2 separate regions of the Homo sapiens genome follow, and region 2 is linked to region 1. The links are contacts of gene promoters, found by promoter capture Hi-C in blood cells and fetal thymus (Javierre and others, 2016). All regions are on one chromosome and are shown on one strand. Each heading gives the region's core, a stretch centred on a gene start or on the middle of the fragment in contact. The rest is flanking DNA. Distances are from core to core; before and after follow the strand shown.

What was found. Contacts are between HindIII fragments. The CHiCAGO score rates a contact against its expected background, and 5 or more counts as called.
Region 2: a contact is called between the fragment with the promoter of SCGB1C1 here and the fragment with the promoter of IFITM5 in region 1, in 14 of 17 cell types (endothelial precursors, total CD8 T cells, activated CD4 T cells and 11 more). The highest score is 11.2, in endothelial precursors.

The regions. Positions count from the first base shown.
Region 1 is chr11:297,899-301,051 of GRCh38, reverse strand. IFITM5 (interferon induced transmembrane protein 5) reads left to right here and starts at 1,526. Exons shown (of 2, transcript NM_001025295.3): 1 at 1,526-1,747; 2 at 2,339-2,852. The coding sequence starts at 1,562. The coding sequence ends at 2,551. RefSeq lists an enhancer at 2,196-2,355. The HindIII fragment of the contact is 13,921 bases long and covers 1-3,153 here.
Region 2 is chr11:191,453-194,605 of GRCh38, reverse strand. It overlaps SCGB1C1 (secretoglobin family 1C member 1), which reads right to left and starts at 1,528. Exons shown (of 3, transcript NM_145651.3): 1 at 1,452-1,528; 2 at 695-894; 3 at 31-188. The coding sequence starts at 1,506. The coding sequence ends at 156. The HindIII fragment of the contact is 15,974 bases long and covers 1-3,153 here.

The sequences.
Region 1 (3,153 bases), core at 277-2,776:
AAAAAAAAAAAACAAAAACAAAAGAAAAAAAGTCACCCCTCTGCTCACTGAGGTGAATGCATATATCTGGTTGCCTCCTTTGGAGAAGCAAGTCAGAAACTCAAAAGAATGCAACCTTTGTCTCTTATCTACCTGCGACCGGGAAGCGCCTCCCCACTTCGAGTCTTCCCTGCCTTGCTTTGCATTGTCCTGCCTTTCCAGACTGAACCAATGTTCATCTTACATATGTTGACTGATGTCTCCTGTGTCCCTAGAATGTATAAAACCAAACTGTGCTCCGACCACCTTGGGTACAGATCCTCAGGAGCTCCAGAGGCTGTCACAGGCACATCCTCAATCTTGGCAAAATAATCTAAATTAACCGAGACCTGTCTCAGATATTTGGGGTTCACAGGCTCAAGCACAGCAGCAAGGAACCCCCCACCCAACCATCCCCTGCAGGTGGCGAGTGTGCGTCCTGGAGGAGGGAGGGCAGCTTGGTCCTGGGCACTCAGGAGTGTGGCCGACTGGGAGACGGGGAAGCTGAGCCTTCTGGCCCGGTGCAGTTGCCACCACTGCTCCGGGGAAGGCTTGGCAGAGGAGGTTGGGAGGGAGGATCCAGGGTCTATTGTTGGCACGTGGGTGGAGGTCCACAGAGCAGGAGTTGCGTGTGTGTGTCCAGAGCTGGGGACCAAGCCAATGTCTTTGGGGGGAAGTCTGGGCTGAAGACATAAATGTGAGTCGTCAGCACACACAGGCATCTACAGCCAGAGACAAGACTGGGGCGGACCTTGAGCCCTAAACAGGACCACTCACCACAGACATTCTGGGATCAGGGAGGGCAGCCGAGGAGGCTGAGGGGAGTGTCCACCACAGGAGCCCACAGGCTCCCTGCATCCCGACACCAGTGTTAACAGCTGTTGCTGGTCCCTGGGGGTTCCCCTGCCGGCTCCTAACAGGCTGCACCCCCTGGCTTTCCCCCCATGTGGTTCTCTCCTTCTCTCTCGCGCCCTCCTCCGACAGCCGCCCTCCCTGTCCCCCTTGCAGGGATGCCTGCGCTCCTAGGGCCTGGCGCTGGTGCTCTGAGAGTGTTAGGGGCAGAGTTGAGTTCTGGGAATGAAGGGGCTGCAGTTTCAGCAGCTCTGGTTCTGAGGAGGGGGCTCCTGTACATCCCTGAATTATGAGGCCCATGGCCCTGAGGCGACACCTCCAACTCTTCTTGGCCTGGACGGAGGGGGCTCTGGCCAGTGGTCTGCCCACTGCCCACTTGGCCAGCAGCCTTTGATGGGGGTGGGGGGATGGGTGGGGGTCTCTGCCACTGCCCGGCCGTAGCCTTCCAAGCGGGGGGCTCCCAGATGGGATGTCTGTCAGGAGGGACCCTGCTGGGTGGTCCAAGGCAGCCTCGGACAGGGGCTCCCTGGGGTGGGGGCTAAGGGGCGGGCCGCACCCTCGGCCCGCAGGCTGTAATTTGTGTTATATATAGCGTTGAGGGGCTGGGCCGGGAGGGCGACAGGGCTATAAGTGAGCGGGTGCCCACCCTCCCAGCACCAGTCTGAGTGTGGAAGAGACGGCGCTGGAACCCATGGACACGGCGTATCCCCGCGAGGACACCCGGGCCCCCACGCCCAGCAAGGCCGGTGCCCACACAGCCCTCACACTGGGGGCCCCGCACCCCCCGCCTCGAGACCACTTGATCTGGTCGGTGTTCAGCACCCTCTACCTGAATCTGTGTTGCCTCGGCTTCCTGGCGCTGGCCTACTCCATCAAGGTGGGCAGGGGCCCTACCGAGGTTGCGGGGGAGGCTCCACTACTCCATCAAGGTGGGGGGAAGGGGGAGGGATGGGGAGCTCCGTGGGGGGTCCTTGCCGTGCTGGGGGCCGCGGGGGGCTCTGCTTGTCCGTGAGGGGCTCTGTGGGCACAGCTATCAGTATGGCCGGGAAAGAGCTCCTCACGAAGGCAAGGCCGGGGGGCCTCTTCTTAACGGGGTCTGGCCCATCCAAGAGCACAGAGGCCATTGGGAGGCACCCACAGAGGTCTCTGCAATCAAGAGGGGGTTCACATGCTGTGGGCTTCTGGAACAGAGGTCCCTTTGACTTCAGCTCCTGGCTGGCAGGGTGGGGGGTGTCTCAGCACCCTGGGGGACCCTCACCCATAGAGAGCTCTGATAGGCTGACACTGGCCTGGGATGGCCCCCGGGTCCATAGCTGGGGCCCCAAGGAGTATCTCCTCAGGCCACACCCCTCCATCCAGATTTTGGGTGCAGTAGGGGCCTTCCAGGTGCCCAGGGTGTGGGTGGGGAAGGGCCCCCAGGCCCCGAGGACACATAGAGATCTGGCCCTGTGGTCTGGTCTCTCTGCAGGCCCGAGATCAGAAGGTGGTTGGTGACCTGGAAGCGGCCCGGCGTTTTGGCTCCAAAGCCAAGTGCTACAACATCCTGGCCGCGATGTGGACGCTGGTGCCGCCACTGCTGCTCCTGGGGCTGGTGGTGACTGGTGCCCTGCACCTGGCCCGGCTGGCCAAGGACTCTGCCGCCTTCTTCAGCACCAAGTTTGATGACGCGGACTATGACTGACAGGCTGGGTCCTGATCTGGGGCACTAGCCCCAGGACACTGACCCCAGGCTGCTGCCCCTGGGGCCCAATACTGACTCCCCGGAGCCTGGCCCTCCTTCTGTGGGGCCTCCATCCCTGCCCCATCCTGATCCTGGGGCCCTCCAGCCCCAACATGGGCACCTAAGGCTGAACCAGTCAGACCCCGGGGTCTTCACCCTAACCCGAGAGTTCCCGGGCCCTAACTCTGCCCCCGATCCTGCCCCTCCCTCCTCACACTCCAGGCCCCTCGGTTCCACGATTAAAAGTGCCTGGTTCCAGAAAGTGCCTCCTGGCCTCTTTCCTGCCTAGCGTGGGGGAAGGAGCTGCCCTAGGGACCACCAAAGCCAAATGCCACAGGGCCAGCCCCCAGAGTCAGTGGCGGGAGCGCCCCCCGCAGCTCAGCAGCCCTGCTTGGCCCCAACTGTCCCCTTCTCTCAGCCACTGGGCGGCCTGTGGCTTACGGGGCGGAGGCCCAGAGTATTTTAGACTAAGTTTGAGAGCCCAGGCCTTTGATCTCTGCTGCTCTGTGGTTTAGCGGCCTGTGCTCCAGAACATCATGGGTGCGTCCCAACCCCACGTGTGT
Region 2 (3,153 bases), core at 279-2,778, 110 kb after region 1:
CTCTGTGGGGGCAGAGACAGGAGCCTGAGCTGCGGAAGAGGCTTTATTGATTAAACGGTTTGAGGATACATTTCCATGTGGGAGGTGGTAGTGGGCGTTGTGTCCACGGCTGCTTGTGTGGCAGGTCCTATGGCTGAGCCATGTCTGAGGTCCACTTAGGCACCGTCCTGACTGCCCAGCACTTGCACCTGGAAGGCAGACACATGTGGACTAAGAGGGCTGTGCTCAATAAGTGGAGAGCCACAGCTCCATCAGGCAAGCAAGGCCCTCAGTGGGGGGGGGTCTGGCATATTGCTGCCTATCTCCTCCCAGCAGCTGGGAGGTGTGTGTGCACATGTGATGGTGTGCACACATGTATGTGTGTGCATATCCCAGTGTGAGCATGTGGGTGTGAACGTGTTTATACATGTGTGCACGCAGTGTACATTTCATGTCTGCACCTGTGTTTGGATCTCTGTGTATGTTCACATGTGTGCATGGAGGAGTATCCCACAGACTGGGGAGGAGGTCTATGGAGTCTGGGGGCTGCTCGGTGGACAGGAGGTCTGGGGTGTCCACCTGAGCTGGCTGATGCGGGTGCAATGTCTGTGGGTGGTGGATGTCTGTGGGTGGGGTAGGCTGTGTGGGTGCTGTGTTGGGTGGTCTTGGTAAGGCTGCAGATCTTTAGAAAATGGGGTGCCCGCCGCCCTCATACCAGCAGCTTGACCAGCTCCGCCTTGTGCATTGGCTGCAGGCCATCTATACAGGACTTGAGTTCAGTCATTGCTGCCTTGGCATCTTCGTTGACATTGTACTTGCCCAAGGTCCCCTCATAGAGCTCCTCTGGGGTCCCCACCAGTAGTGTTTGCAGGAAGTCCATGAAAAACTCATCGTTGTCCTCCCCTGTGGCCATCCCTGCATCACGAGCGAGATGATGCCAGGACAGGACAGGGTGACTCTGGTGCAACCACAGCCCTGGACCTGCCCCAGGGCTCCAACCTCCATGGTCTCCAGACCTTCCCCTTCAATGCCCACCTCTCCTCCCCAGGGCTTCCTCCACAACACCTCCAACTCCACCTTGCCCGAAGACCCCTCCACATCCCCCTTAATCTTAGCTGCTCCAATTTCCACTCAGCATTCCCTGGGATCACCAGGGAAGGAAAGTTAAGCTCCTGGTGTGGGGGAAATTTCCCCTGATGAGAGGCTATTATGACCAGAGGCTTGAAGGGTCAGGTCAGGCTGGACTGGGCTGGGGTAGGAGACACTGGGCTGGTGTTGGGTCAGCTGGGCTTTGTCCTTGGTTGGGGTGGAGTAGGGTGGGCGCGGGTTCTGCAGGGTCCTTGCCCACTTCTGTGACAGAAGCAGGTGGAGTGTTCACTGCAGAGGCCCGATGCCAGGATTTTACCTTCTCAGGTACCCCCCACTCCCCCCCACCCCTGAATGTTCTGGAAACCCCAGTGGCACAGACTCACGGCAGATGCAGAACAGGGTGAGGGCCACCAGCAGGAGGGCACGGCTCCCCTTCATGCCAGCAGTCTCAGGAGCTGCCTCCAGCCAGAATCCCGGGATTTTATGCCTCACCGGACAGCACCTCTCCTAGAGGGCGGACCGGACCTGCCCATTAGGACCCGGCAGCCAGCTTAGATGAGGTTTGTTCACATCCCTGGCCCCCAGTGGGTGCCAAGCAGCAACAGGCATGGAGTGGCTGTGTGACAGGTGGTTGGCAAGCGGCTTTAGGGTGTGTGAGAGAGAGAACAGGTGTGTTAGGAGGGAACACTGGTGAGAGGCCATGCCAACTGATCGGTGAAGAAGGCAGTGGGTCCTGGCCACCAAGGGCCTCTAGTCATGCCTGCCCTTGAGGCCGAGAGTGGTGGGATCTGGGGTTGGTCCCACGCCTTTCTTTTAAGGTGCGAATCCCTCCTCTTATCAGTGTGCTGTGTGATCTGGGTCTGCATCTGGGGGTCTCCAATCAGGCAGGGGCCCCTTACTACTCAGATGGGGTGGCCGAGTAGGGGAAGGGGGTGCAGGCTGCACGAGTGGACACAGCTGTAGGACTACCTGGGGGCTGTGGATCTATGGGGTGGGGAGAAGCCCAGTGACAGTGCCTAGAAGAGAGAAGGTGGCCTGAGAGGGTCTGAGGAACATAGAGCTGGCCATGTTGGGGCCAGGTCTCAGCAGGAAGTGAGGAATGGGACAGGCTTGAGGTACATCTTCCATCAGTAGCCAGGATAGCAAGGAGGGCTTGGGGTTGCTATCCTGGGGTTCAACCCCCCAGGTTGAAGGCCCTGGGGGAGATGGTCCCAGGACATATTACAATGGACACAGGAGGTTGGGACACCTGGAGTCACCAAACAAAACCATGCCAAGAGAGACCATGAGTAGGGGTGTCCCAGTCCAGCCCTCTGACTGAGCTGCATTGTTCAAATCCAAAGGGCCCCTGCTGCCACCTAGTGGCTGATGGCATCCACATGGCCCTGGGCCACACGCGTTTAGGGTCTCTGTGAAGACCAAGATCCTTGTTACATTGAACGACTCCTAAATGAGCAGAGATTTCCACCTATTCGAAACAATCACATAAAATCCCATCCTGGAAAAAGCCTGGGGGATGGCACTAAGGCTAGGGATAGGGTGGGATGAAGATTATAGTTACAGTAAGGGGTTTAGGGTTAGGGATCAACGTTGGTTAGGAGTCAGGGATACAGTAGGGTCACCGGTAAGGGTTAGGGGTTAGGGGTAGGGGTTAGGGTTAGGGTTAGGGTTAGGGGTTAGGGGTTAGGGTTAGGGTTAGGGTTAGGGTTAGGGGTTAGGGGTTAGGGTTAGGGTTAGGTTTTGGGGTGGCGTATTTTGGTCTTATACGCTGTGTTCCACTGGCAATGAAAAGAGTTCTTGTTTTTCCTTCAGCAATTTGTCATTTTTAAAAGAGTTTAGCAATTCTAACAGATATAGACCAGCTGTGCTATCTCATTGTGGTTTTCAATTGTAACCACATTGTGGTTTCAATGTGTTTACTTGCCATCTGTAGATCTTCTTTGGTGAGGTGTCTGTTCAGATGTGTGTGCATTTTTAGTTGGGCTGTTTAACTTATTGTTTAGTTTTAATAATTTTTTATATATTTTGAAGACAAATTCTTTCTCAGATGTGTATTTTGCAAATATTTTCTTCAATATGTGGCTT